5 separate regions of the Homo sapiens genome follow, and regions 1, 2, 4 and 5 are each linked to region 3. The links are contacts of gene promoters, found by promoter capture Hi-C in blood cells and fetal thymus (Javierre and others, 2016). All regions are on one chromosome and are shown on one strand. The core of a region is centred on a gene start or on the middle of the fragment in contact, and the rest is flanking DNA. Distances in the headings are between cores, read along the strand shown. Region 1 has its middle 6.6 kb from the start of APOL2. Region 2 holds the start of APOL3 (apolipoprotein L3). Region 3 holds the start of EIF3D (eukaryotic translation initiation factor 3 subunit D). Region 4 has its middle 17 kb from the start of APOL4. Region 5 overlaps APOL3 (apolipoprotein L3).

Region 1 (3,776 bases), core at 1,089-3,588, 280 kb after region 3:
AACATTTTGTTTTAATTAATGCACAAGCTCCACCATGGGCAGCAGTTGTATGATTTTGGGTCATACGATTTTGCAGAGGAACATGCCTGATCTGGGTGGTTTCTTGATTGGGAAGTGTAAAACGATGGTGAGTATCATTGAAGGCTGCAGCTGTGTGTTTAGCCAGCACACGAATTGCAGCTCTGCATTTACAGTTGCCACTTTGGAGGCAAAGATGGCCAAGGGGTAGAACCACCAGTATGCACATATCTGGTAATCTCTAGCTTTTACCGTTTTCCAGTTACTGGGGGTCGTGTCTAAATGGGGAACTATATACTGTGGCAATTAAGGATGCCCTGAGATGCATCTGCCAGTCCAGTTGAATGGCAAATAAGGCCAAGGGTGGGTGACACAGGCCCACAGCCATCTCCATCTCCATGGGGATTGGTAGGCACCCATATGCAGAGACTTATTCTACCAACCCAGCCATGTATCATTGCTTAACCCAAGGGCTTGGTGACATTGTTGTACAGGTAGTCACCCCATATTGTGGGGTTAGCCGGTGATGTGCTGTCATTGTGTCTACCAATACACAGTTGCACAACTGACTACCTGTATTTGTACTATGGTTGTTCTGTCTGCTGTTATAGCTAAGGTGCAAGTTTACCCATGCCCCACTGCACCAAAGCAATTGCAAACCTTCCCCGGCCTCTGGGAATAGAATCTTCACTGCACTACAATTGCGCAGTGAAGAATTAACTTTATCCCAGGAGAGGTCTTCCCATTGTCCCCTACCCCTGCGAAGTGATCTCCAGGCCCCTGGAATGCCCTGCCTGGTAGGAATGTCTTTGTTTCCCTGGTGGTTTGGCTACAGGACAGTATAGCAAATGTGATGGATGATGGGGGTTTGGGGCTATTGGGTATCTCTTCTCACCACCAGAGGATCTGGGGACTAAAGGTGTGAGACCTCAGGGAGGGGCTGGAAACTCCAGGTCAGCCATGAGTGCAGCCTGTGGTCAAGCCCCAGCAAACACTCTGGACACTAAGGCATGGGTTGAGAAAGACTTTCTGTTTGACCAGACTCCAGTTGGGCTCTTCTGAGCCTCTTCTCCTCTAGGCACCAACCTTGGCCTTCCATGCCCATCCCGTGCTTGCTGGGCCTGCACAACCCTGGCTCAGCAAGAATCCCCCCGAGTCAGTTTAGGGAGGGTCCTCCCTTCTTACTGTCTGAGCACACTTGCTATCTGATCACTCTCCTCACCTGCCCCTTGATGGGTGAGTGTCTGACCTGCCTTTAGGGAAAATCCTGTTAGGCCAGTTTAGCATGAACCCCCGACTCTGGTGCCTCCTGTCAGTCCTGTTCCATCTGCTGCCCCTCACTCTGGTGTTGGCTGTGACTCCCCCTCTGTCTTTACTGTATTGGGAGCTGGGCTCAGTCTCCCTCCCCTGTAACAACAATCCTGAATAAAGGCTTTCTTCCTGATTTAATGTGATTCACAGGAATTTTTCCTTAACTGGGTGAGCTTCCCTGGTTGGCAACACCCCATGTGTTTTGTCCCACATTGACACAGGAGAACGCAGCCTCCTGAGGACAACGAAGCTTCACACCTGAAACCCTCCTAGACTCTGCCCTGTGTGTCTTCCTTAGGCTGATTTTAACCTGTGTTTTTTCCCTGTGATAAACCACAGTCATGCAATAACAGTTTTCAGTGAGTTACGTGAATTCCTCTAGTGAATTATAAAATCTAAGGACGGATTTAGGAATCCCCTTAAATTTGCAGTTAGTGTCAAAGATAAGGGTGCCCTCAGACATTGCAGTTTTGGTAACTCTGAGTACTCAGAATTCAAACAAAACCAAAAACAGACCTACACAAGATCACTTTGCCTGGCATCTGCTCTCTTCCAATGCCTCATGCCCTTTGACCTTCTGACTGATGGTCACTGGTTCCAAGCACCGCACCAGTTGACTGGAGGAGGAGACCTGGCTATTAGTTTTGGAGAGTCCACATGGATTCTCCAGCCACCTTACTGCCTCCTGACCTACCACCTGCACCTCCAACCTTCCAGGTCTCACTTTCAGATGTCACCAGCCTAATCGATGCCTAAGGAGTGATGGCTTCACCTCTGTGCTTGCCAAGGCCATGTGCAATTTTATGGAGCCTCTAGAAGACTCAAGACACTTTCAGAACCATCTATATAAATTGCTAATGCTGAAAAGACCTGAATTTGGACAAGATGGTAGACGAAGTGTTTTCCTCTTTGGTTGGCAACTTATGGGTTTCCTCAGAACCCCTGAAATTACAAAAATTGGCAGCCACCCATTCTGACTCCGGAAGTGGTCACTAAGCCACACTGCTTTCCCAGGGTCAGGGGCTACTCTATGTAGAACACAAGAGGGTCCCAAAGGGCACGCAAAAACTCCACAGTTCTCACAGTTCTCAGGCTTGGTGTGGGGGAAACCGTCACTCACGGCCCACTATGCCAATCACTGATGGGATCAAATCAGGGAGGGAAGAAATATCCCTCTCCCACTCATGTGTCCTCTGCAAGTCAATGACCTCCTTACGTTTGGTGTCCTTGGTGCCTCCCTCCTCTCACCCTAGTCCTGGCCCTGGTGTCCCAGCCTTCCTACTTACCTTCCAATTAGGCCCACTTATGCCCATCCTGACCCCTGGTTCTGCCCCTGGTCCAGGTCTATCTGGACTTTTCGGCAGGATCATGGTACTTGGTCCCCCACCTTTGACCTGGAGTTCACTCTAAGGCCTTCACCATCCTCCTATATGATTGAATTACTATTCCCATTGGACAGATGCCAGACGCCAGATGCCAGTCTCCAAGGCATAATCCTAGAGGCCCACAGCTGTGCAGGGACAGAAGCCAGGATCCATCCCAGCTCTGATCAACTTCACTCCAGCCTCTCCATGTCCTGGGCCAGCAGAAGGGTTCTGCTGTGTTTGTGCAATTCCTCAGATGGGGAGGAAATAGGCCTGGGCCAGAATCGCCAGGAACACACATTGATTTGGTCAGGATTTTTCTGACTTGTCCCAAAGGAAGTGCTTCTTGGCTTTCATCTCCAAGAAGGAGAACTTTGGCCCTGGTCTCTTCCCACCAAGCTTTTTAAAAGTTAATGTTAGAAGTCTGAGGAAGATGGCAGATAGGAGACAGGGCTAACATGCAGCTCCCACTTGGAAGGACCGGACAGCATGTGGAGACCCACATCATGTAATAATGTGTGCCAAGAACCACCACAGGAATGTACCAGGAAAACTGAAAGAATTCACAGATCCTTTGAAAGAAGTGGCATGCTCCTTGCCAATTCTATGAGACAGGCAAAAAACTGGGAGTTCCCAAAGTGTGAGGGAGGGAAAATCTGCCTCCAAACACACATCGCCCCTGGGGAATCTGAAAATCCAGATTACAGGAGAGGGATTTAACCTTACCCATAGCTGAAATGGATTCAGAGAACCATGCAAAATGTAAAAGTAGAAGCAGAAGTGGGAAGAATCCTGTAGGCATTCCCAGTGTCCAGCTCAAGCCCAGGGCACCATCCCTGGCGGTATCTCACAGAGGCCTTTGGGGAAAGCAGCCAGCAGAATTTGGGAGGGGTCACAGGGTGAAAGAAGCTTCCAGATGGATTTTCTAATAATTTCTACTGGGCTTGAATTTTCTTGAGCAGAATCCAGGGGGAGAACAGGAACTTCTGCAAATATGAGCCCAGGAGCCACCACTGACACTGTGGGCAGATGGGGAGAGGCAAGGCCTGAAAGCCATGCTTGCTTTCTCAGTGGAGAAGCTTA
Region 2 (4,150 bases), core at 1,266-3,765, 370 kb after region 3:
ACAGATAGACGACAGGTCCTCGGAGGTTGTAACAGGTTTGTTGGTATAGACTTTTAAGGAGTATGCAATTGACTGTGGGCTCGACCCTAGGATTGACAGCTTATTCTGGTCGGTTAACAGAAGTGGGGGCTGGAAATGTTTCTGATTGATTCCACTCAGAAGCAGGAATGGAAATGGCTGATAGACCTCTGCTAGGGAAGGTGTAAACACAGATTCAACAGTTTCTGTGATGTTGTGCAGTCCGTTGATGTTGTGTTTAAACAAGGTTTTAAAACTTCTTTGATGGTAGCTAAATATGGGTGTTGGAAAAAAACATTAGGAGAAATGATTGCAAGGGTTAATCTAGTTTAAAAAGCAAAAATATTGGTTACTGCATTTAAAACAGCTATTTTAGCATAAAAAATTATTTCACCCATTCAGGAGGAGGCAATTGAACTGCAAATATATGAGAATAACTATAACAATCCAACTTAAAGCTAATATTTAAAAAAAGGCACTAGGGAAAGTCAGTGGGCATTACTTATTTTTTGGCAGTCTTTTAAAGAGAGGCTTGAGGTCCACTAAAGTCTCACAAGTGTATTTGTCTGTGGAGACATCATCAGTTTGGGCAGCCCTCTGTGGTTTTACATAGGAGTGTGGATGCAGCTGGCAATCCAGAATACACAGCACTGAGATCAAGGTAGTCTCGACATCCCAATATCCTTGACCATTACCAGGAGAGAGTGTCCCCTGCTCTTTAGATGGAGGCTCCGCCTCCCCTGGGGCAGTCTGTGTGTCTCTCAAGTTGTACCTATGTGTGGACCATGGCTGTGCCCAGCATGGAGACCCCTTCCTACAGTGGGTACTACAGCCTTGCTGAAAACATTTGTCCCCTAGATTCTGAATAAAAGTGGTTAGAAAGAAAGAAAAGAAATGAAGCTCTGTTCAAAAGAAAAAGGAAAAAAAATTGCAAAACGATCTTCAGAAGCTGTGCTGCTGCCTATGGCAGTGTGGCAGGGAGGGGGCCTCGGGTGGGGTGAGTGCCCAAAAGGGTGGGCGAGGACGATTTGGGGAGTTCTCCAAAGGTTATGACCCACTATGGGCCTACCCTTCGTTCCCGGCTGTAAACCTCTAAACTTAGCATTTATCCAAGCTATCCCATGATCTGAATCCCAATCGGCTCTCTTAATCAGTAATTTTAAAAATTGCATCCAGCCAAAATGCCCAGTCTAAAGGGAGTTGAGGGTGATTCCTGGCTCTGTGGCCAGAGCATAAGAAACCATTTTGCCTCTCAAAGCTTCCCTGGGCTGTTAACAAGCTCTGGGCTTCAATGGCCACTACAACCTAATGAAGTTGTTTAATCACGTTAAACAGCTAATTAAACCTAAATCCAGAGAAGATTTCTCTAAGCCCTTCTCTAAAAGTTATTGGTGGCATGTTGGGGGATATACCCCCTCTCTAATGCAGCAAATACAACACTCATTGCAACTTCTCTTAGCCAAGCAGCGAAACATAGCACAAACATCTTGACCCAAAGCGAAAGGAAGCATTTTAGCAAAATATGTTTCAGTTCCCCAAGCTAAAATCAAGCACATATTAAAAGCCATGCTGAACGTAAATCATCCAGGTCACAGCACTAAGATATTACCAGGAATTCTGCGCTGGGATGGATCCTTTAACTGAGGAGATTAACAGAGCTGGAGTTCTGGACCAGTAATCTCAGTTCTTCTGAGAGTGAGCAAACAATTGCAGGCTAACTCCAAAATGCAAGCTCAAAGCAAAGTGTATTGAAGCACAGTTAGACACTCTCAGAGGGACAGTGGGCTAATTTCTGTGAAGTGAAGTCAGCCCCTCTATATAGAGTTTAAGGTGCTTCTGTGCGGTTTGTGGAGAGAAGTTGAGGTTGGGGCTGTGTCTGAGTAAAGGACGATGTCATCTGATTGGCAGTTTATGGTTATATAACTAAAATTAGGCAATGCATGTTTTTACCCATAATTTTCACAGAAAAGCCCACTCTGGGGCTTTTGTATAATAAAACCACATTTTATTATAATGATGGTATAATGAACTTGGGGTGACCTGAGGGCACAGTTTCATGTTACTGGGCATGTGCCCCTTTAGGGAATTTCCACCTGTGCCCTAGTTTCTCTTTCTTCAGGATGTGCTGGCCACAAACTATACCACCAACTTCATCAGTTAGGGGGGTCTTAGAATGGCTCTGGGGCTGAACTTAGGTGGGCCAGGAGCTGTTGCAGTGACAGGCTTTCTGCTCTCTTTTCTCCTCCCAGCTGCTAATGTCTACTTAACTGCCTGTTGGGAGCTGAAAAGGCCAAAGGGATTGTGACCAACTCAGCATTTCACTGGAGGCTATATGATCAAACAGCAAACTGTTTATCATGAATGCGGGATGTGGGTAAACTCACACTGCACCCGCCGCCAGAAGGTTTCCTGAGGGCCATCACTCCCTGGTGCTGGGCTCCTTGAAGTTATCTGTTGGGATATCTAGCACCTATTATTTGAAGGATGCAGTCTTGCAAGCCTGCTGTGAACCAAACGGCTGACTGACAATTACCTGACAATCACCCCCCCACCTTTTTCTCGTCATCTCTTTTACCTAATAAACTCAGAGAGCTTGAAAAGCTCAGAGCCCTTGTTCACTAGAAGCAAGGAACCCCCTGACCCCTTCTTCCTAATATACTCTTTTGTCTTTGTCTTTTACTCCCACATCCGCCCCCCACTTTGTTCAGTCAACCTGGGACTGTGGCCAATTACAACAGCCTAACAAAAGTGCCACAGGAGTGGAACATGGGGCAGTGGGCTCTGCTGAAGAGGATGCTAGGGGGCTTCTCAGGGGAGGAAATGCTAGATTTGCATTCTGATAGAGGAGCGTGACTTTTCCAGGTGAAGGTAGCAGGTGCTCCTGGCAGAAGAACCCACATAAGGAAGTGTCCAGAAGCCACACAGGTATGGCGTTCGACAAGAGCAGGTCTGGAACGGTGGCTCATGCTGAGGCAGGAGGATCATTTGAGGCCAGAGTTTGAAACCAACCTGGTAAAAATAGTAAGATTTCACCCCTTCAAAATCATTTTTTAAAAGTAGCCAGGCCGAGTGGCTCATGCTTGTAGTCCCAGCTACTCAGGAGGTTCATTTGAACCCTGGAATTTGAGGCTACAGTGAGCTATTATTGTGCCACCGCACTCCAGCCTGGGTGACAGAGCCAGACCCCATCTCAAAAACAAAACAAAACAAAACAACAAAATAACCCCAACAGCAATACAATCAATATGCAATAAGCGTCCACCCGGCATGTGTGATGGACTGTGGTAATGCTGATGGCATGGAGGGAGTGAGGTGGGCATCTGGGGAGTGTGGTGTTATTGGGGGTGGGGAGTAATCTGGAGGGTCTCATAGTCTTTCAGTGGTAGGTCTTTCTTCCTGAAGACACAGCAAACCCCCAACCCTAAGTATGGGAGGCAGGTGGGTTGGCCAAGAAGGACGTCTGGGGCTGCTCTTGGATCAGCAGGAGGGTGGGACCAAGGGTGCTGCTGGACCAAGGATGGGACTGGGCCAAGGGTGGGGCTGGGAAGCATCCTGTTTTGCATGTTTGATCAGGAGCTGCTGCCAAGTTGTGACTTTCACTTTCCCTTTTGGGTTCCAGGGTATATCTCAGAGCCTGGAGAACGTGTCTGGTTATTATGCAGATGCACGGCTGGAGGTGGGATCCACACAGCTCAGAACAGCTGGATCTTGCTCACACTCTTTCAAGAGAAGCTTCCTTGGTAAGTTAGGGGTGGTCTGACCTTCCCCATCTCCCCATCCTCACAGCAGCTCTATAAGAGAAGGGTCATTCACCTTTTGTAGATGAGCTCAGAGAGGTTAGGTAACTGACTGAGGTCACATCTCGGTCCATGGCAGAGCCTGAATTTGCACCCAGGTTTTAGCTGGACTTCTCCCTCCCTCTCTCTGGGCCCCCAAACAGTAGAGACAGAGGCAGAATCAGCTCAGCTGGGTTCACAAAGCTTCCTAGGGCTCAGCTCTAGTTCCAGCCTGCGTGAGACATGGCCCGGTGACCCCAGAAGGAAGGCAGATGTTGGGACTGTCCATTCCTTTAGAATATTTGGAGGAACCAGAGAAGGTGGAGGACAGGAGGTGATCCAGAGCCTGGCCTGTC
Region 3 (4,120 bases), core at 559-3,058:
GACTTCAGGTATATTTTCTAATAAAGGAGACATACTAGGCGGCTAAGGAAACCTATGTCAGGTAGAAAGGATCTGAGGTTTGAATAAAGTCATGCCCTCAGATTATCTTTCATTGTTTTAAAATTCCGAAAGAAAGACACCAGGAGGAACTCCATAGCCTGGGAGTTGCTGAGAGGACAGCACTGTTATCTACTGTAGTAAAGCAGTTCCTGAGTCGTCACTTCAGAATCACAGCTAATGCGGAGCTCTTGGGCTCCAGCATAAACATATCCGTATAATCTATCAAAATGAGACCCAGAATCTGAATTTTTAAAAATACTATCCTGGTCAGGTGTGGTGGCTCACGCCCGTAATCCCAGCACTTTGGGAGACCGAGACAGGAGGACTGCTTGAGCCCAGGAGTTTGAGACTAGCCTTGGCAACATGATGAGACTTCGTCTCCACAGAAGTTTTTTTTTTTTTTTTTAATTAGCCAGGCAGCCGGACGCAGTGGCTCACGCCTGTAATCCTAGCACTTTGGGAGGCCGAGGTGGGTAGATCACCTGAGGTCAGGAGTTCGAGACCAGCCTGGTCAGCAAGGTGAAACCCCGTCTCTACTAAAAGGAAAATTAGCCGGGCATGTTGGTACACGCCTGCAATCCCAGCTACTCGGGAGACTGAAGCAGGAGAATCACCTGAACCTGGGATGCGGAGGTTGCAGTGAACTGAGATAGCGCCACTGCACTCCACTCCAGCCTGGAAGACAGAGCAAGACTCCGTCTAAAAAAAAAAATTAGCCAGGCATGGTGGCATGCACCTGTAGCCTCAGCTGCTCCGCACGCTGAGGCGAGAGGACCACTTTAGACCAGGAGTTAAAGACCAGCCCGGGCAACATAGTGAGACGCTGTCTCTACAAAATTTTTAAAAATCATTAGCTGGCCGGGTACGGTGACTCATGCCTGTAACCCTAGCCCCAGTGGGTGGACTGTTGAGCTCAGGAGTTTGAGACCAGCCTGAGCAACATAGCAAAACCCCATCTCTACCAAAAATACAAAAATTAGGCAGGCGTGGTTGTGCGTGCCTGTGTACACCAACGACTCGGGAGGCTGAACTGGGAGGATCGCTTGTACCTGAGAAGTCGAGGGTGCAATAAGCCGTGATCCTGCCACTACATTTCAGCCTGGGCGACAGAGCGAAACCCTGTCTCAAAAAATAAATAAAAATAAATAAAAACACTGTTCCAGAAATCCCTGTCCTACAATTAAGTTTGAGAACTGCGGAAGTATGGTTTGAACTCTGGCGGTTAGAACCCTAAACTAACAGTCTGATCTAGGCAGGTCACTTGGCACTTCTGAGCCTCAGTTTCCACAACTATAAAGGCGGAGGAGTAACAATAAGGACCGCCTAAGACACCGACGGACCTCCCCTGCGCTGAGTTTCACATTAAGCAGGCAGGTAGAACAGGCGGGGAGTCGCGGGTGACGGTGGGATACATGGGGGCTGAGGCGCGCCGCGAAGCATTGTGGGACACAGAAGGGCGCCAGTCGCTCCCCGCCTCGAGCTTCGATTGCGCGGCCGCCAAGTTTCAGTGATGAACGCCCTCTTTGGGCGTCCCCGGATACCGCCTGACGTAGTGCCAATCACACCTCTCGCGTCTCGGCGCCTCGGAGGCTAATGAGGACGCCTGGCGAAACGCAGTAACGGATTTCCGGGTGGACCTTCGCTTTACGGCTCGTGAGTTCTTCCGCCCAACCCAGAGGAAGCGGGAGAGCAGTTTACGACAGCGCCGGTCGTGTTTACGGCGGCGCCCGCTGCGCGCGCATGTTTCCTCTTTTCCTGGTTTCTCAAGAGTGCTGCTGCTAACGCGGTCCCCGGCACGCACCATCTGTTGCCATCCCGGCCGGCCGAGGCCATTGCAGGTGAGCGGCGTGTTTCATAGGTTCCTGCGGCCCTCCGGAGCCGGTTCGGACTAGGTCCAGCCTTCGGGGGGCCTCCCGGAAGAGACCTCTCTTAGTCCCTTCCTGCTGTTGCCGTCCCTCCGCTGGGCGGGGCAGGAATCCACTTTCGGGGGCCCCGCGTCCCGCACGCTACTGAACGCGGGACACGACCTTGTGGGTGAGGTCCTTGGCCCTCGGCCCTGCTCAGTGCCCATGAGCTGGGTGAATTTGATTGTCACTTAACTCACCTGGGTTAAGACGGAGGGGTAACAACAAAGTCTTTCTGAAGTGGCCGAAAACTCCCTGACTTTTTGAGTGAGGTCTTAGGGGTACCAGGCTGAGCGGTGTTTGGCCCCTGTTCTTAGGAATTCACAGTGCATAGGTTATCTTTCCTTTTTTGTGAAACTGGAGGCTAGGATAGAGAAGTAGATTTGATCTCTGATCTTAAATCTACCCCACCCCCTGTTCAGCGATGGACGGCTTATGATCTGTAGTGGCCTGCCAACCACAGAGCCCCTTCTGAGTGCCCTCTTGGAACCTCCCTATCCTGCCCCTGTGACTAGTACAGCTGTTACTTCGTTTTTGCTGAGCGGCTCAGTTTCTCCTCCTGGTTCCGCTCTGCTCTTAAAAAAAAAAACATTTATTAAAGCCAGGGTATCTCATCCCTGGCTTTCCAGGGAGGTGATGCAGGTCGAGCCTCGGGCCTCTTCCCTTCTTGAGCTTCTGACAGAACCCGATTTTTTAAAGTGTGTTTTGAGACTCGTTGTCTTGGTATTATGATGTACGGTCTCAAACCCCTGATCTTTGCGGGCTGCTGCCCAGCTGTAATATAATGGAAAGAAGGCTGGACTGACAGCAGGCAACCCTGGAAATCAAATCTGTTTTGAAATGATGAGGTCAGCTGCTTGAGTAGGCTGAGCTTCAAATTTTTGCCTCTAAAGTAGGGGTGGGGGGGTGGTCAATGGTGTTAAATTATCTGGTATAGGGCCTAACACGTAGGAGCTCAGCAATATTTATTTAATACAAATTGTTCTGAGACCACCACCCTTTTTCTTCTGTCCTCTTCCTATAGTTTCTATTAGAAAGATGAAACTTCTAGGTTCATCCTGTGTTGCTGTCACCCAAATGTCATCTCTGAAGGAAGCCTCAATCTCCCCAGCATGGGGCTTTGAGGAGAGTTTACTAAGTTCAGCATACCTGTTCTTTTGATTGCTCTCCAGCCTCCAAGAAACATTTGATTTTTGTTTTTTTGAGACGGAGTCTTGCTCTGTTGCCCAGGCTGGAGTGTAATGGCAGGATCTTGGCTCACTGCAACCTCCGCCTCCTGAGTAGCTGGTATTACAGGTGCCCGCCACCACGCCCAGCTAATTTTTGTATTTTTAGTAGAGACTGGGTTTCACCATGTTGACCAGGCTGGTCTCGAACTGCTGACCTCGTGATCCGCCCACCTCGGCCTCTCAAAGTGCTGGGATTACAGGCGTGAGCCACCGCGCCCGGCCTCCAAGAAATACTTGTGTAGTGAATTTTCCTCTAGGAACTCGCCTTCTAAGCATTTTCAGAAGGTTACAACGGAAGATAAATGCATAGGTTTTTTTATAGAAGTGTCGGGCAGCCATCTGCTATACAGCGCCGGTTTTTTAATTCCCAAGAGGGCTATAGCATTATGCAGAGTGCAGACTCTGGGGTCAGACTGCTTTGGTTCACGTTTTTCATCCACTAGCATTTCAACTTTGGGCAATTTCTTCATTTCTCTGTGCTTTGGTTTTCTTATCTGGAGAGTGCGGATAACATTGGCTCCTACCTCACAGGATTGTTGGCAGGACTGTATGAATGAATGAGTGGTAAACAGTAAGAACAGTGCCTGGCAGTATTCATGAACATTTAACATGGCAACTTTGGGCCTGAGGTCTGTGGGGACCTCCTTGGCCCTCTGGCAGTTCTTCTGCCTGGCTTTATGTCCGCTTGCACTGCACACAGGATTTGCGTTGATGGCAGAAAATTGAAACAATGAGAAAGGAAAATTGAATTTCAGGATATACTTAAAGATCTTTTTTTCTCAGCACTCTATATACATAAATGCACTTTTGCAAGTCTGAATACTTGTGTGGCATTATACAAAGTGCTTAGAACAAGGATCTTGTTTATTTTGCAGATGGAAAAGACTAAGGTGGCTGGACGTGGTGGCTCACGCCTGTAATCCCAGC
Region 4 (3,906 bases), core at 857-3,356, 310 kb after region 3:
TTCTTTTATGAGATCAATCTTCCACAAACCTACTACAATTTGCTTAAAATTTCTTTTTTGCCATATCTTTCTTTTAACTTGAAATGATCCTTAAAACCTCTAAACTAAACAAAATGATGTTTTCTTAAAAAGAACCACAGTCCCATGCCCTCTTTCAACCCTTTTATCAAAACACATCCTATCTCTTTAATACATTCATTAGTCAGAGTTCTCCAGAGTGACATGGTCAATAGAATACATGTACACACAGAAATACACATAGAAGTGAGTTTATTAGGGAGAACTGGCTCACATGATTACGAGCAGAAATCCCACAACAGGCTCTTGGCAAGCTGGGGAAAGACAGAAGCCCGTAGTGTGACTCAGTCCAAGTCTAAAAGCCTCAAAACCAGAGAAGCCGACTGCGTAGGTCTCGGTCTTAGGATGAAGCCCTGTAATCCTCCAGGAGGCCGCTGGTGCAAGTCCCAGAGTCCAAAGGCCAAAGACCAGGAAGTCTGATGTCCAAGGGCAGGAGGAGAGGAAGGAAGCATCCAGCACGGGAAGACAGAGAGAGTGATGAGCAAGCTGCTCACCCTTTTCTCTTCTGCTTGCTTTGTTCTGGCCTCACTGGCAGCTGATGGGATGGTACTGCCCACATTCAGGGTGTGTCTTCTTCTCTTAGTTCACGGACCCAAATGTCAATCTCCTTTGACAACACCCTCACAGACACGCCCAGAAACAATCCTTTACCAGCCATCTAGGCATTCCTCCGTCTAGTGATGTTCACACCTCATATTAACCATCACAATACACTTTGTGTATAGCCAGAAGGTGGTCTAGGCAGCAATAGATGTAATGTTTTAATTACATACATTAATTGTAATGTGAACTCTTGGTAACTCTTATTTTTATTGAAGAATCTAGGAGGTAAACAGTTTTAATTATGCACCAGATGCGTATCCCAGGATGAAGGGCAATGCCTGGGGTTAGTCCAAAGGCTTGATTCTCAAGACACATAGGTTTACAGATGAGATAAGCAAGCTTTAAAAGTATTACAGAAGCAAACTTTTTTATCCTAATACATCTAGCAGACAATAGTATCTGACCTGCTTGACTAATTCAGCCCAGATATCTAAATTAAGTTTTGAAGACATTTCTATTTTACCAATAATTTTTAAACTGTCTCTAGCAAAGATTATTAAAGTCACATGAAGTGAATGCTATTCAAATGAAAGTTTCTATTTTTCTGATAAAATATTGGATTTAAGTGCTTTTTTTGGCAAGCCAATTAATTAGACCCTTCTATATATTTTGATGGGGAAATATTATATACCTATAACACATATAAATACATAGACACACAGAGATGCGTACAGACCCAGATCCTGTAGATTTGTAAGATTTTTTATTTGTCACTTTTCCAAATTTTTCTCCCCCACTTTAGATTACTAATTTCTTTCTTTCTTTTTTTTTCTTTCTTTCTTTCTTTCTTTCTTTCTTTCTTTCTTTCTTTCTTTCTTTCTTTCTTTCTCTCTCTCTCTCTCTTTCTTTCTCTCTCTCTCTCTCTTTCTTTCTTTATCTCTTTCTTTCTTTCCTTCTTTCTTTTTTTTTGAGACAGAGTCTCACTCTGTCGCCCAGGCTGGAGTGCAGTGGTGCCATCTTGGCTCACTGCAGGCTCCGCCTCCTGGGTTCACACCATTCTCCTGCCTCACCCTCTGAGTAGCTGGGACTACAGGCACCTGTCACTACGCCCGGCTAATTTTTTGTATTTTTAGTAGAGACGGCATTTCACCGTGTTAGCCAGGGTGGTCTCGATCTCCTGACCTTGTGATCTGCCCACCTCTGCCTCCCAAAGTGCTGGGATTACAGGTGTGAGCCACCACGCCCAGCCCACCAATTTCTTGATAACCTGTTTTATTGCCTCAGCAATTGTCAGCCAGATGGCCCAAAGTTCGCACTCTAAAGGAACAAATCTTAGGTGACATCAGATAGAGATTTTACATCTCAAAGTAGAACTAAAACATTTGGCCTAAATATTGTATCATTTTGCTTAAACCAAGGGAAGAAAAACAACTGGAAGCGAACGCAGGTCTGGATGCTCCCCACCTGGATCATCCAATTAACAAGAGCGAGGTCTGCTAGAAAGAAAGTGTTTTTATTAACCAAAACGAGTAAAGGGGAAGTGGCTGGATTCCCTTGGAAAGCAATCACTTTTGCAATCTCTCCATATGACAAAGGTCTAATATTCAGAGTCTACAAGGAACATAAGCAAATTAGCAAGAAAAAAAAACCAAACAACTCCATTATAAAATGGGCAAAGGACATGAACAGACAGTTCTCAAAATAAGACATTCATACGGCCAACAAACATGAAAAAAAGCTCAACATCACTGACCATTAGAGAAATGCAAATCAAAACCACAATGAGATACTATTTCATGCCAGTCAGAATGGCAATCATTAAAAAGTCAAGAAACAACCGATGCTGGCGAGGTTGTGGAGAAAAAGAAACACTTTTACTTTGTTGGTGGGAGTGTAAATTAGTTCAACCATTGTGGAAGACAGGGTGGCAATTTGTCCAAGAAACCCCTTTGACCCAGCAATTCCTCTGCTGGGTATATACCCAAAGAAATATAAATCACTCTGTTGTAAAGATACATGCATATGTATGTTCACTACAGCACTATTCACAATAGCAAAGACATGGAATCAACCCAAATACTCATCAATGATAGACTGGATAAAGAAAATGTGGTACATATACCCTGTGGAATACTCTGCAGCCATAAAATGGAATGAGACCATGTCTTTTGTAGGCACATAAACGGAGCTGGAAGCTGTCATTCTCAGCAAACTAATGCAGGAACAGAAAATCAAATACCATATGTTCTCATTTATAAGTGGGAGTTGAATGATGAAAACGCAGGGACACATCAAGGGGAACAACACATACTGGGGCCTGTTGGCGCAGGGGGAGGGAGAGGATCAGGAAGAATAGCTAATGGATGCTAGGCTTAATACCTCGGTGATGGGTTGATCTGTGCAGCAAAGGACCATGGCACACATTTACCTTACATCCCGCACATGTACCCGGAACTTAAAATAACAGCTGAAGGAAAAAATGAAACTTTTCACTGGAAAAAAAAAAAAAGAAAGAAAGAAACCAGTTTGATGTTTTTGGGTAAAGGCCGGGGCTTAAAAAGGAAAGCTTGATAAGGACAGCATGCTAGAATTGTGTATGTGTGTATGTCCTGTCCCTGTGGCTCTCCTGGGTCCCAGTCCACCTGGATCTTGGGCTGGCGTCATCTCAACGATGGCTGGATTGCTAACTAGCTGCCTTGAGTACTCTCTGGAAATTTGTAGCTGGGTCTCCAGGCTTGGCCTGTGTGTCTCAAGATTAACCTATGGAACTTCTGAGAAAGCACATGATTAGACACTAGCACAAACTTAGATAAATATAGGGGGTATATATGGTGAGAAAGGGAGGGGCATGGACTCTATTTTAAGTCTAAGAAAAAAGGCTTCTGCAGTTTGCTTCAAGGTTAAATCTGGAAACCAAAGAAGAAGGAAAACCCAGTTTAAAATGCAGTTTGAAGTTAAGCTGCCTGATTACAAAACGATATAAGCAAATTTTAGTTAAGAGGTCCAGGAAAAGAACTTTAAACAGAGATATGCCTTAGGATAGAAGAGAACAGTTTTGAATTTGCCAGGAATCTGTCCACTTCCAACTCTTGAGGTCGCATGAGGAAAACAGAGGTTCCTCCCCAGCAGGGACTCTGGTGCTTTTTTCTGTTTTTCCCAAAGGATCTCAGCTGTTAGAAACTACTGTAGGTCCTCTCTTGATTGCATGGAGGGTGGCAAGAGGAAGGAGGGAAAGACAGAAGTAAACAGAGAAACAGACAGAATTGAGGTGACTGAGACATAGAG
Region 5 (4,103 bases), core at 860-3,359, 390 kb after region 3:
TGGCCATGGACTTGCAGAGGACCAGTGAGTGGGAGAGGGATATTTCTTCCCTCCCTGATTTGATCCCATCACTGATGGGCATAGTGGGCCATGGGTGACTGTTTCCCTGACAGCATGCCTGGGAACTGGGGCATTCTGAACTGCCATTTGGGACCCTCTTCTGTTCTACATAGAGTAGAGGAAGTGTTTCTTCGGGCCAGCTTGGAGAGTTGGAACAAGTGTCTGCCAACTGGGTAATTTGAAGGGTTCTCAGGAGACTCACAAGTCCCCAACCAAAGAGAAAAACACTTTCTCTATCATCTTGTCCAAATGCAGGTCTTTTCAGCATTAGTGATTTATAGAGATGATTTTCAAAGTCTCATGAGTCCATAAGAGGTTCCATGAAATTGCACATGGCATTGGCATGCACACAGGTGAAGCTGTCACCTGCTAAGGCATTAGTTTGGCTGGTGACATGTGACAGTGAGACCCTGAAGCTTGGAGGTGCCAGGTCAGGAGGCCGTCAAGTGGCTTGAGAGTTCATGTGCAGCCAGGACTAATAGCCAGGCCTTTCACTTTTCAGTCAAAGGGGGCAGTGGCTGGACCCAGTGGCCTTCAGTCAGAAGATCAAAGGGCATGTGGCATTGGAAGAGAGAACATGCCAGGCAAGGTGATCTCTTCCAGTCTGAGGTTTTATTTGATAGCTTAAGGACTCAGAGTTAGTCAAAATGCAATGTCTGAAGGCACCCTTCCTTCTGACACCAGTTGCAGATTTGAAGGTGTTTCTTAAGCCCCCACTCAGGTTTGATAATTCACTACAAAGACTTACGTAACTCACTGATAACTGTTATTGCACGATTGTGGTTTATCACAGGGAAAGAACACAGATTAAAATCAGCCTAAGGAAGAGACACACAGGGCAGAGTCTGGGAGGGTTTCAGGTGTGAAGCTTCGTTGTCCTCAGGACGCTGTGTTCTCCTGTGTGAATGTGGGACAAAACACATGGGGTGTTGCCAACCAGAGAAGCTCACCCAGTTAAGGAAAAATTCCTGTGAATCACATTAGATCAGGAAGCCTTTATTCAGGATTGTGTTACAGGGGAGGGAGACTGAGCCCAGCTCCCAATATAGTAAAGACAGAGGGGGAGTCACAGCCAACACCAGGGTGAGGAGTGGGAGATGGACCAGTTCTGACTGGAGACACCAGAATGGGGGGTTTCTGCTAAACTGGCCTAACAAGCTGCTCAACTAAAGGCAGGTAAGGAGCGGGTGAAGACCGTGATCAGACAGCAAGAATGCTCAGACAGCAAGTGGGGAGGACCCTCCCTAACTGCCTTGGGGGATTCTTGCTGAACTGGGGCAGTACAGGCCCAGCAAGCACGGGATGGGCATGGAAGGTCAGCGCCTAGAGGAGAAAAGGCTCAGAGCAGCCTGACTGGAGTTTGGCCAAGGAGAAAGTCTTTCTCAACCTATGCCTCAATGTACAGAGCTCTTTCTGGGGCTGGATCACAAGCTGTCCTGATGGCTGACATGGAGTCCCCAGCCCCTCCCTGAGGTCTAACACCCTTAGTTCCCAGTTCCTTTGGAAGGCAGAAAAGATACGTAATAGCCCCAAAACCCATCACCCATAACATTGCTATACTGTGCTGTAGCCAAACCACCAGGGAAACAAAGATGTTCCTACCAGGCAGGACATTCCAGGGCCCCAGAGATCCCTTCCCAGGGCCCAAAGACAAAAGAACGACCTCTCTTCTAATAAAGTTAATCCTTCACTGTTCTATGATCCTCTGAATGAAGGTCTTTTTGCTCCGAACCCACTTCTCTTTGTTCATCTACAAAATTTCCCCTCTCCACACACTATTGGAGGGATGATGTTGACCTCTCTTGCTTGAGGAGCCATCTTTATCGAATACCTACCACTAAAGAGCATCTGAAGATGACTTTAAGTTTTTTATTCCCATACAGAATAAGTACTGTGGCATATCTATGATATACAAAACATGTTTAACCTTGGAAAAATTATTTTAAATTTTTCCATTTAAAATTTAAAGCTTTATTTCCATTTGACTCATAGTAATAGCTCTGTGATTTATGTAGAACAGATCTTATTGAGCTGATTTTACAGATAAGTAAGCTGCCTTTCTTAATCATCTGTCCTTTATTGGTACAGGGATGAGGCAGATGCTCTCTACGAAGCTCTGAAGAAGCTTAGAACATATGCAGCTATTGAGGACGAATATGTGCAGCAGAAAGATGAGCAGTTTAGGGAATGGTTTTTGAAAGAGTTTCCCCAAGTCAAGAGGAAGATCCAGGAGTCCATAGAAAAGCTTCGTGCCCTTGCAAATGGTATTGAAGAGGTCCACAGAGGCTGCACCATCTCCAATGTGGTGTCCAGCTCCACTGGCGCTGCCTCTGGCATCATGTCCCTTGCTGGTCTTGTTTTGGCACCATTTACAGCAGGGACGAGTCTGGCCCTTACTGCAGCTGGGGTAGGGCTGGGAGCAGCGTCTGCTGTGACTGGGATCACCACCAGCATCGTGGAGCACTCATACACATCATCAGCAGAAGCTGAAGCCAGCAGGCTGACTGCAACCAGCATTGACCGATTGAAGGTATTTAAGGAAGTTATGCGTGACATCACACCCAACTTACTTTCCCTTCTTAATAATTATTACGAAGCCACACAAACCATTGGGAGTGAAATCCGTGCCATCAGGCAAGCCAGAGCCAGGGCCCGACTCCCTGTGACCACCTGGCGAATCTCAGCTGGAAGTGGTGGTCAAGCAGAGAGAACGATTGCAGGCACCACCCGGGCAGTGAGCAGAGGAGCCCGGATCCTGAGTGCGACCACTTCAGGCATCTTCCTTGCACTGGATGTGGTCAACCTTGTATACGAGTCAAAGCACTTGCATGAGGGGGCAAAGTCTGCATCTGCTGAGGAGCTGAGGCGGCAGGCTCAGGAGCTGGAGGAGAATCTAATGGAGCTCACTCAGATCTATCAGCGTCTGAATCCATGCCATACCCACTGACCCCAGACCAGTGCAGCCAGCAGGGGAGGTGAGCCATACACAGGCCACGACAAAATGCAGGCATTTTATTAGGGGGATAAAGAGGGCAAGGTAAAGTTTATGGAGCTGAGTGTTAGTGACTTTGGCATTTCTGTAGCTGAGCACAGCAGGGGAGGGGTTAATGCAGATGGCAAGTGCACCAAGGAGAAGGCAGGAATGCTGGAGCCTGGAATAAGGGAGGAGAGGGGACTGGAGAGTGTGGGGAATAGGAAGAAGAAATTTCCTTTAGACTAACGAATATATTGGGGGGAGGAATAGAGGGGAGGTGTGCAGGAACCAGCAATGAGAAGGCCAGGAAAAGAAAGAGCTGAAAATGCAGAAAGCCGAAGAGTTAGAACTTTTGGATACAGCAGAAGAAACAGCGGCTCCACTACCGACCTGCCCCCGGTTCGATGTCCTTCCAAGAATGAAGTCTTTCCCTGGTGATGGTCCCCTGCCCTGTCTTTCCAGCATCCACTCTGTCTTGTCCTCCTGGAAGTGTATCTCAGTCAGCCAGTGGCTTCTTGATGATGGCGGTGGAGGTGGTGGTTGTAGTGTGATGGATCCCCTTTAGGTTATTTAGGGGTATATGTCCCCTGCTTGAACCCTGAAGGCCAGGTAATGAGCCATGGCCATTGTCCCCAGCTGAGGACCAGGTGTCTCTAAAAACCCAAACATCCTGGAGAGTATGCGAGAACCTACCAAGAAAAACAGTCTCATTACTCATATACAGCAGGCAAAGAGACAGAAAATTAACTGAAAAGCAGTTTAGAGACTGGGGGAGGCCGGATCTCTAGAGCCATCCTGCTGAGTGCCCTGTGTGTAAGTCCTAATAAACTCACCTACTCACCAAGCTGGACTTATTCGAGTCATTCCTTGGTCTCCTGGCTCCTTTCTCGCTTTGGGAGCAAGTTCCTGTCTGAAGTTTTTGTCTGAACAGTGGTAAAGGTGATGGTGATGATGTCAGCAGACAGCAGGAGGACTTGACAAATGTCAGCCCTGCTTGGGGCCAGGATACACTGAGGGAACGATGACATTCCAATGAAACTCCAAATTCTGTATTGGAAAAGTCATTGAT

The links. The method cuts DNA at HindIII sites, captures the fragments that hold promoters and counts their contacts. A CHiCAGO score of 5 or more calls a contact.
Region 1: a fragment that was not itself captured here is called in contact with the fragment with the promoter of EIF3D in region 3 in 1 of 17 cell types (neutrophils); the score reaches 5.0 in neutrophils.
Region 2: a fragment that was not itself captured here is called in contact with the fragment with the promoter of EIF3D in region 3 in 3 of 17 cell types (naive CD8 T cells, total CD4 T cells and activated CD4 T cells); the score reaches 5.3 in naive CD8 T cells.
Region 4: a contact is called between a fragment that was not itself captured here and the fragment with the promoter of EIF3D in region 3, in 1 of 17 cell types (neutrophils). The highest score is 5.3, in neutrophils.
Region 5: a contact is called between a fragment that was not itself captured here and the fragment with the promoter of EIF3D in region 3, in 1 of 17 cell types (activated CD4 T cells). The highest score is 5.6, in activated CD4 T cells.

The regions. Positions count from the first base shown.
Region 1 is chr22:36,244,280-36,248,055 of GRCh38, reverse strand. No RefSeq gene overlaps it. Among named protein-coding and RNA genes, the nearest start is that of APOL2, 6.6 kb to the right of the region's middle. The HindIII fragment of the contact is 1,513 bases long and covers 1,582-3,094 here.
Region 2 is chr22:36,160,277-36,164,426 of GRCh38, reverse strand. It overlaps APOL3 (apolipoprotein L3), which reads left to right and starts at 3,672. Exons shown (of 4, transcript NM_145639.2): 1 at 3,672-3,758. RefSeq lists enhancers at 2,069-2,228, 2,180-2,753. The HindIII fragment of the contact is 2,474 bases long and covers 1,279-3,752 here.
Region 3 is chr22:36,526,854-36,530,973 of GRCh38, reverse strand. EIF3D (eukaryotic translation initiation factor 3 subunit D) reads left to right here and starts at 1,808. Exons shown (of 15, transcript NM_003753.4): 1 at 1,808-1,898. RefSeq lists enhancers at 1,538-1,937, 2,248-2,297. The HindIII fragment of the contact is 11,469 bases long and covers 1-4,120 here.
Region 4 is chr22:36,217,265-36,221,170 of GRCh38, reverse strand. No RefSeq gene overlaps it. Among named protein-coding and RNA genes, the nearest start is that of APOL4, 17 kb to the right of the region's middle. The HindIII fragment of the contact is 2,167 bases long and covers 1,023-3,189 here.
Region 5 is chr22:36,140,104-36,144,206 of GRCh38, reverse strand. APOL3 (apolipoprotein L3) reads left to right here. Exons shown (of 4, transcript NM_145639.2): 4 at 2,149-3,878. The coding sequence ends at 3,007. Among named protein-coding and RNA genes, the nearest start is that of APOL3, 19 kb to the left of the region's middle. RefSeq lists enhancers at 2,253-2,752, 2,753-3,254. The HindIII fragment of the contact is 156 bases long and covers 2,032-2,187 here.